Linked DNA regions of Homo sapiens: region 1 is linked to region 2. The links are contacts of gene promoters, found by promoter capture Hi-C in human tissues and cell types (Jung and others, 2019). All regions are on one chromosome and are shown on one strand. Each heading gives the region's core, a stretch centred on a gene start or on the middle of the fragment in contact. The rest is flanking DNA. Distances are from core to core; before and after follow the strand shown. Region 1 overlaps GULP1 (GULP PTB domain containing engulfment adaptor 1). Region 2 holds the start of GULP1 (GULP PTB domain containing engulfment adaptor 1).

Evidence for each region. The method cuts DNA at HindIII sites, captures the fragments that hold promoters and counts their contacts. A contact is called where the count stands out against the background at its distance.
Region 1: a contact is called between a fragment that was not itself captured here and the fragment with the promoter of GULP1 in region 2, in 1 of the 25 tissues and cell types used here (IMR-90 fibroblasts).

Annotation. Positions count from the first base shown.
Region 1 is chr2:188,435,227-188,440,308 of GRCh38, forward strand. All of the region lies in intron 2 of GULP1 (GULP PTB domain containing engulfment adaptor 1), which reads left to right. Among named protein-coding and RNA genes, the nearest start is that of MIR561, 140 kb to the left of the region's middle. The HindIII fragment of the contact is 4,224 bases long and covers 1-4,061 here.
Region 2 is chr2:188,288,250-188,293,296 of GRCh38, forward strand. It overlaps GULP1 (GULP PTB domain containing engulfment adaptor 1), which reads left to right and starts at 3,625. Exons shown (of 12, transcript NM_016315.4): 1 at 3,625-3,917. The HindIII fragment of the contact is 13,352 bases long and covers 1-5,047 here.

The sequences.
Region 1 (5,082 bases), core at 700-3,199, 150 kb after region 2:
AATTCATATGACTCAGATTGTTCCAACTCTTTTTGATCTGAACACAAACACAAACCTTTGCCCTTGCCAGTGAGTTGGCTTAGAAAATGCCCTTTCAATTACTGCTGATCTCATTGACAACCTGTTGCCTATTTTGGTATGTTAAACGGGCTTTTGGTATCCTTTATTTTCTCCAACACTGATGCCGCTACCATGAGTGTCTTCTGACTATTAATGGCTTACTCTCACTCAATTCCATTATAAGAATCTTTGAGATAGCTTGTGCATTAATTTCCTATGTCTTATAACAAATTCTATGCCACATGATACACTTGGCTGCTTAAAATTACAGCCATTTATTACTTCACATTTTTTGTGTGTCAGAAGTCCCATAGACTTACCATACCTGTGTCCTTGGCGTAGGGTATCACCAGGCTGAAATAAAGGAGTTTTCTGGGCTGTATTCTCATCTGTGGACTCTACTAGAGAAGAATCTGCTTCAGAGATCCCTCAGGTTGTCGGAATTCATTTCCTTGCATGCAGCTGCACAATTTATGGCAGGATGCTTCTTCAAAGCTGTTAAAGGAGAGACAAAGGCTGTACTTTTTGTAGTCTCTAATGTTAGGCAAAGACTGGGATCTCTCCATAGGCAGTTCTTAACATGGCTCTTTCCTTCTACAAGGCCAGAAGAATCTCTTTTCTTTAAAAAGGCCCAGTCCCTCTTTTAATGAATCTCACTTGATTAAGCCAGGTCTACGCATGTTAATTTCTCTTTTAATTAACTCAAAATCAACTGTTTTGAGACCTTAATTATATCTACAAAACCTCTCCATCTTTACCATGTAACTTAAGGTAATCCTGGCTTTGATATTCCATTATATGCATAGGTCCTTCCCACCCTCAAGGGGAGAGATTGTACAGGGTGTGTACACCAGGTGGGCAAGGATCTTGGGGTCCATTTTAAAATCCAACCATCACAGCTTGCCACCTATTTTTGTTGTAGATTTTGTTCCTGTTTTTGTTTGTTTGTTTGTTTTGCTATTCTGGTTGTATTATCTTTTATTATGGAGGAATTCACAAACTAGCCATCATGATTACCTTTCCCTAAAATCCTTTAATTAAAGTTTTGTATATTAACACAATTTAATAGGAAGTAATACAATAGTAACAAAAGACACTACAGCATCATAGGTATGATATTCCGATATCAAAGTATAGGTCCTCAGTCTCTCATCATTTTGATTTAAAATTACTTTCCTCACTGATTTAGCTGATCCTCCCAAGTTCTCATTATAGAAACATGTTCATGTCTCCATTATAGCAATTAGTACATTTTATTATCTATATTCTTTGACCCTTGATTTCTAAACTGGCAAACATGGATCCCTACAGGAAATTCAAGGAAAAAAGAGACATTAAAATTTGTATTAAAAGTTATTTTTTATTTTTTAACTTTTGACTTATATTTTCAGCTATATTTCATAATATGTGCACTAATTTAACAGGTAGTTTATACATATAGTTTTAAATTGAGTATAATATGTGTTCTGTAAGAATATATTAATTTGTACATATTTTGGGGCACATGCTCAAACATTTTTCACATACAGTGTTCATGAAGAAAACATTTTGGAAACCACTTTTTAGATAGTGAACTATTTTAATAGGTGCTGTATATCTCTATTTCTATCCATAGATCTTTTGCACTTGGCACATACATAAAAACAATAAAATGCAGCTGTTCTGCAATAAACTAACATAATGTTATCACTTACCTGGACCACAGCATTATCCACTATAGTTCTATCTTCTTTTATTAGCTTTACCATATCAGTTCTGGTAGGACAACTTTTCTAATATGTCCTTGTTTTTAGTATGTGAAAACTATCAAATTATGTTTTTCATATTATATGCTAATATCTGTTTACTGATAGGATGAATATCTTGCAGAAATGTCCCTGAATCTTTCATAGAAATGTTAACACTTATGCTTTCCAGGTTACATTTTGTGTCCAAGGAATGAAGAGTATTAAAATCTAAATTTTTTCATTGTGTTTGCAAATGCTCTTTCAGGCTCTTTAAAATTCAGAGCCCAAACGATCTAATTGGCAGTTGTACATATCAAGCTGAAGTTAGAATTGATTATACATTGCGATCATCTGTTTGTTCTATTTAGAGGTGAAAAAGCATTTCTTTTCCCACTTTGGCTTCAGTATTTGTTTGGCAATCAAAGTACTTGGACTTGTAAGTTACATCAGTGTAAAATACTTTTTTAAAAATGAGATTTTTAAAAAATGTATTCTTTAAAATAATGTTTAGTAGTTCTGAGTTCAAAGAAAAGACATTCAACCCAGCAACCCCATTACTGAGTATACATCCAAAGTAATAGAAATCATTCTACCATAAAGACACGTACATGTGAATGTTCATTGCAGTGCTATTCACAATAGCAAAGACATGGACTCACCCTAAATGCCCATCAGTGACAGATTGTATAAGGAAAATGTGGTACATATACAGCATGGAATACTATACAGCCATAAAAAGGAAGATCATGTCTTTTGGGGGAATATGGATGGAGCTGGAGGCTGTTACCCTTAGCAAGCTAACTTAGGAACAGAAAACCAAATACCGCATATTCTCACTTATAAGTAGAAGCAGAATGATGAGAACTCATGACACGAAGAGGGGAACAACAGACACCAGGGTTACTTGAGGGTAGAGAGTGGGAAGAGGGAGAGGATCAGAAAAAATACCTGTTAGGTACCTGGCTTAGTGCCTCGGTGATGAAATAATCTGTAAAACAGAGCTCTGTGACATGAGTTTACCAGTATAACAAACCCACACGTGCACCCTGAACCTAAATTAAAAGTTTAAAAACATTAAAAAATAAATACATAAAAAATACAAACGCAGTGATGGGAGTTCTAATATATACTTCTATTGTGGTTTGAGAAACCAAGACTAAGGTTAATATAAAATCTTATCCAGGACAAACAGAATTAAAAAGCAGCTGTGCAAATGCATTTCAGCCCCCAACTTGCACTTGCATTTCATCTTCCAACATCTTATTGGCCAATGCAGTCGCATGCCCAATTTCAAAGCTTGCCCTCATGAAGTCACATCAAGAGTGTGATATATACATATATAGATATAGATATATCACATGTATAGCATATATTATGTATGATACATTATATAATTATTTTAATAATTATGTCAAATACATAATATATGACTACCAAATTATTAATAGTTATATAATCAGTATATTAACATAACAATTATTAATATAATTATTCTATTAATAGTCTAATAATTACAGTAAAAATCTATAATAATTTTGTTTTTTTCTGTCATTTCTTACTTCCTATTACATTGTTACTGGTTAATTGCATTATTCCCAATTCTTTGTTCTCCTGCTATATATGTTATATATGTCTGCCACATAGAATATATATATCACAAAAAAAATGTAAAGAAGGCACAAAATAAACTTGCATGAAAAAATCCAAACACATCAGTAGTCAAAAGGAAATAAAGTAGTTAAAACACATGTTTTCAGACTGAAATAAATATAAATCTATATGCTGCTTAGAGAACTATATTAGTTTACACAATGCTTAATATTATTGATTTGTATGTTTTCATGTCTGTAACAATAAACTGTGTTGCATAATATAAAAGAGAAATGCCTTCACTTATATACTATATATGTTCCAGAAATGTATAAATATCTAGTTGCATTTAAAAGTTTTGGAACCAATCCTTTCTTAAAAAAGAACTCTCTATGAATTGTTTGTTAAATTAGGAATATTATTAATTTATCATTTTAAATTGTACTCTTCTCCGGAAACCATATTTAATTCTTTTTCTTATTTCCAGGAGAGCATATTTCTACCAACTATTGTTATTCAATAAATGTTTAGAAGTCTTGGTTAGCTGATAATCTCAACATTCCAGAGAAAAGTAAATTCAGAGAAAGTAAGAGCTGTTGGAGTTGGAAAGGGATGGATTTCATAAAGATTAAAATTTAAAACATCAATTTTACAAATGAAGAAACCTTAAAGAACATTTTTCATTTTGTATGGCATTTTAATCATCATAATTTTCTAAATTCCTGTCTGGTTGCAAATTAGAACCATTAAATTAAAGTTAGAAGAAAAAAAATTCTACCAAAATACATAAGCAGACAAAGACGTATATATGTATAAGAATGTCATTTACAGCATTCTTTCTGTATCTCCAATACCTGAATATCTATTGTTTGGTTAAATAAATTATAATGTATCCACACAATGGAATGGTAATTGGCCTTTAAAAATGTGAGATGTGAGAAAAAGACTATGCATGTGTGTACACATATACACACATGCTACTGGTGTGTGTGTGTATGCGTATTTGTTTGTGTGTTCTGTAATGTTATACACCAAATTGCTATCAGTGGTAAGGACATGACTCTGGTGGTAGGAGGTAACTGGGAGATGTGGTGAGGGGAATACTAATTAGACTGTGGGGAGGACGCCTTAATTTTATCTTTCTATATCTCTCTTTTTCTCAAAATTTGCAATATGCTTTTCATCATGAAAAAAATCAAAATGGGAAGTAAAATATCAGAGACAGCCTACACTGATCATTTTTTATGAGTAAGGTGATGCAGGAAAAGCATTAATTAAATGAAACTGCCTTACATCAAGTAGTACCAGACAATAGAAAAGGGAAATCATTTAAACCTTATTCGTTTATGCATATCCTATATTTTTCCAAAATAGAGTACCACCAAAACATCTAAATAATTCAAAAGTGAGGAAATAACAGAGAGGAGATACATTTTTTGAAAAGTAAAACTAAAAAGAGCTGGTTTATTACAAAATGCATATACTGGAGATCTATCACATTTGCTAAAATTGGGCCACAAATGTGGTTCTAATATTTCTAACAGCCAGACCAGATAAAGAAACATGATTCACAGTGTTCATTAGATAAAAACAAATCTATTGTTGGGAAGCTGTAGCAGTCATTTTGCATCAGCCTGAGGGCAGAGAGGATAACTGTTAAAGCTTCTTTCACATGTCATTCAAATGCTAAACTTAACTGTAGAAA
Region 2 (5,047 bases), core at 2,375-4,874:
CATAAAGAAGGGATACTATTTATCCGGGTCTCTCAGAGGCCTCAACAAACCTTGGAGCATATAGAGAAAATGTGAGCAATAGGTACTTTTGGTGATGGGAATACAGGTGATATTTATTTCCCTTTTGCAGTTGCCCTCCTATTTTTTTTTCTTTTTTTGCAATGGTCATGTTTCATGTTCTTAATCAAGAAGATCAAAATAAAGCGATTCTTTCAGAATGACAGATAAAATGATAGAGGTTTGAAGGTAAATGTAACACAGTAACTTTGGAACCCAGAGCCCCTAGGAACTCATAGGATATTTGGCCACTGTTACACATGACAAACAGAAACATGACCCCCTTTCAAATCACATGACTGAAATTTGAATTTCAGTCTTGGTTTTCATTACAGTTTTTAAAAAGTTGTCAAATACTTTAAATGTTGGTTTTGCAGAAATATAGGGCTAAACAACCAGCATATTTTTTGTGTGCTTTTGCAATAATCAGAAATAAAATTGGTTTTCTTAAGGTAAGTAACAGGTCGTTTTTTTGTCTTAGCCAAAGTTCCCTTAGTTAGGGTAAGAGAAACTTAATTCTGGTTTGAGCAAGAAAATTAATTTAAAAATACTGGAGGCCAGGCGTGGTGGCTCACACCTGTAATCCCAGCACTTTGGCAGGCCGAGGCGGGTGGATCACGAGGTCAGGAGATTGAGACCATCCTGGCTAGCAGAGTGAAATCTTGTCTCTACTAAAAATACAAAAAAAAAAAAAAAAAAAAAAAAAAATAGCCGGGCATGGTGGCGGCCGCCTGTAGTCCCAGCTACTCGGGCGGCTGAGGAAGGAGAACGGTGTGAACACGGAGGCGGAGCTTGCAGTGAGCCAAGATCGCACCACTGCACTCCAGCCTGGGCGACAAAGCAAGACTCCGCCTCAAAAAAAAAAAATAAATAAATAAATAAAAATAAAAATTACTGGAAAGCTGCTGAGTTTCTATCAGGGTCTATATGAACCTATGATGAATGTGAAGAACTTTCAAATGGAAATCTGAGGTATTTGCAGTAGGTAAAATTAGGCGTATTTGTCATCGTAGTGCCCTGCTAGGCTTCTGCAACCCTTTTCTTTGGCATCTCCCTTCTTCACTTCCTGGGGCATGCTATAAATTTGTTTTAAAATCTTGTTCCATTTGGTTCTATTGTTTTTAAAAACTTGGTTCTGACACTCTTGAGATTTTTATACCTCTAAGCCATTTCACAAAGAAGATCATATCAAAAGTCAGGTTATAAAAATTACAAAGCAATAGCAAGTTTAAAGACTTTAAACAGTGGGAGAAAATATAAAAGTGAGTAATCTTTAGCACTGTATGTAACGATTGGAAAAAGACAGTTATGAGGACTCATCTATCTTCATTTATCCATTCATGATGGATGTGCTTTGTAGCCATATTTTTTTTTCCCTCTTTAGGATCTTCCAAGTCTTATGGATAGGAAAGACAGATCTCTAAAGAGGCTATGATATGCCTTTAGGAAACTGAGGATGAGGCCGGAGTAGTAAATAACTCTTACTTAGAAGGAGTATATAGGGTCTCATCCCTGAGAACATGGGAGTTAGTTATGTAAATGTTCAGATGATTTTCAACATTGTATATGGTAAGGAAGAATTTTTTAAAAAGACCTTCTTACAGGTACTAGAGGCAAATGAATGAGAAATAAGTACATGCTATGGGATTTTCCATTATTTCACAGGATGGAAAGTTTGATCTCTGTAGCCTGATTTTGTTCTTTGGCCTTGAACTTGTTCAAGTTGAATTGTGTGTCCTGAACACTGATCTAGTTGTTCACAAACTAGGGTCAGCCAACTGTAGTGGTATGTTGATGTATTCTTGGGAATCGAGAGTTATTATAATCTTTTAATATTATGGCTAAAAAACCCAAAATATCTATGTGTAAATATATAATGTAAGCATGGATTCGTTCATCTCATCAACCTCCTTATTCCTAAATACTGGACTACCATTTGTTTTATTTTTATAATCACATTGATACCAAGTGATCATCTAAATGACATTATTTAATTTTTAATGATTGTTCATAAATTAATTGCTTAAGAGTTATTTACAGAAAAAAACTAGCATTTGTCCTGAGATTAATATTTTTAATATAATTATTTTTATGTGTGCTTGACTATTGTGATAAAGAGAAAAACAGTTAAAAGAGGACCCCAGCCAAGTTATTATGAGGACTGATTTCTGATATTAGCTTTAGTACCTCCAAACCATGAGATTTGGGGAAAGTCACTTAAGAGCCCTAGACTTCAGTTACCTTGTATTTAAAATAAGGGAGTTCAGCTGGAACTAGTTAATCTGTAAACATAGTTTCCATTTCAAAAATTGTGAAATGATGCCTTTTTAAATGGAAAAAGCATTAAGGAGAAGAAAACTGATTCAGTTACAGGGTCTTTGGGGGAAAATTTCTAGCACCACCCTCTCTCCTAATTACAGTAAAACATGGTGGGATATAAGAACCAAATATTTATTGAGTATTTTCTCTGCGCCTATCACAACTCTATTTTAACTCCTGTAAATGTGACTGTGACTCCGTGAGCTAGATTATAGAATTCCTGTTGACAGTTATAATTGGTAGGCACAGAAAGCGTAAAGATGGAGTTTGGAATGGAATCTGGCCTGTCTGACTCTAAGCCCTGGATCCACTGTAATACATTATAACTGCTAGCTTTGCAAAATGCCTTTTTCCTTTTCTCATCTATTTTCACACTCAAACTAAAATTTAGTAAACTAAATTCTGAGCAGCAGAAAAAATTTTAGTAAAGGTCCTCTCATCCTTGAAGAACTTCTTATATAAGGATACTCCTTCTTGCTCCCTTTCCCACGCAGAACTTTACCAAAGGTCAGTAAGAATGGGCTGTTGTGTTTTCTCTCAAATCCTATACAGAAGTCCTTAATTCCGAGGTAAACATCTGAATGGAACAAATGAGTATGATCTGGGGGTTAAGGCAATTTTCAAGTGTGTGTATGTGTGTGTCTGTTTTAAGGCATAACAAAGTCCAGAGATTAAGGCCGAGTTAAAAAACAAATGAGGACAAACCAATGAGGACAAACCAGTCCGCTGAGGTGCGGCCAGAGCAGCAGCAACTGTGGCTGCTTTCTTGATAAAGGCTGTGAAGACGGCACGTTTTACTCTTATTCGTGTATTTCTTTTGACACTTTACCCCTCTATGAAGCCTCAGAGGTGTTTTAAAATTGTGTTAGGAAACACACAGAGATAAGAAAAGGCAAATGGTCCTGATCTAGTGTCTCAGGGAAGAGGCTGGAAAGGAAACGCGGCGCGAGTGGGGTGGGAGAGGGGGCCTGTGGTTTTGCTTCTGTCCGGGCTGAAGACTGAGTAAGGTAGGGCCCCTCCTTCTGCGGATGGGTTTCTCTCTCATTCCACCCTCCACCCACCTCCGGTTCCGCGTGCACGCGCGAGATAGTCCAGTGGGCCCACAGATAACGACCATCAGAGATTAAAGAAGGAAAGTCAGCGAGCTTGAACACAGGCGTCCCGTGTGGAAATGTCCAAGGAGACCGCCAGAAGTGCGCAAGCCGGAGTCGGCTAGAGTTTCCTTCTCACCGAGAGGGGGAGCCCGGCGTTCCCGGCCGGGAGCGACCCGGAGTCCCCAGCCCCGCGTCCCAGCTGCCGCCAGCGCCAGTTTTGGATTCGGCGGATTAGGAAGAGGAGGGAGGGGGGAGAGAGCGCGAAGAGGGAGGGGACCGAAGCTGGAGGGTCCCGAGTCCAGCGCCGTGTTGGCGTAGAGAAACTTTCCCTCTCGGCCTCGGAGACGGCGCCCCGGCCGTGCCGGAGTGGAGATCGCCAGGCTCGGAGGAACCGGCAGCTCTCCACGCCCCTGCCCGAAGCCTGACCCGACTGCCTCTCTCAGTGAGGTACGGAGATTTATCTAGGCTCTTCCCTGGCTGCGAACCCAGGCTCCCTCCAGGTAGCGTGGAATCGCTTAGAAGCTGATATCCCGAGGGGCGGTGGGGGTGGACAGCTCCGGCCACCAGTGCCCGGGAAGGAGGGCGCGGGGCTGCGCGTAGCCGCTGGCCAGCAGGTTGTAAAAAATTAGGACAGCTAAATGCTCAGGGAGTCGTCCAGCACTAAAGGAGGCTAAGACCTGTTGACGCCTGCTATGGCAGCGCTTGAGAAATGACTGGGGGAGTCCAGCGAGGTCGGGGACGCAGCGGTCTCCGGGCTCCAGAAACCTCCTTAGCCTTTTGTGGTAACTTTGGTCCGGCGGCGGGGGGCCGGTGAGCAGGAACTGGAGGGAGGCGGTGGGGAAACCGTGGATCCGTCCGGCTGAGGGTGCGTGGATCAGACTGGGCTGAGCAGGCAAGTCATCGTCGGGTCACAGCGAGGCGACCCAGGAGCGAACTTCCAGGGCAGCCTCCCTTTTGTTGGCGCTGGGAGAGAATGTGGGCATGGGGGTGGGGAGGCGCGAAGCTCCGAGGCCGGGCCGCGGATACTTTAAAGCTCAGAGCTGGGAGGGCCCAAAGGAAGGGGCGGCGTCCACATGGTTACCCTTCTGCTGCGCGGGTCAAGTAGCTTCTTCTGGAGGGCGCAAGGCGCGGCGGGGGTGATGAGCCCTTGGGTTCTCGCTCCGACTGCTAAATTCGCTTGGCCGGGTCCACCTTCTCGTGGCCTCACTCGCCACACGGATCAGAATCCGGAGCAGGCAGTTCTCTCTATTCTGAGGCTCCTGCGGCTGCCGCGCTGACTTCCCTGTGTGCGGGAGGGAACTCTGGGCAGGCTGGTTTTCTTGGAATGTGTTTACGATGTTGAATGGGACTTGAACAGGAAGCTGGACGCTGCAGCTGGAACTAGCGTGCCAAGGTAGAGTAAGGAAGACTTAGCTGGTGTTGGGCTTGGCGGGTCCACTTGGTACGCTGGGCAAACTCCAAGTAAGTGAGGGCTGGCAGTCAAGGTACCCCTCCCTAGGTCCTAGTAGTGTTTCCCAACTGAGCTCGCCTTACTCATTTGCAATCAGACATTTTACATGCACTATTTCAATCTGCAA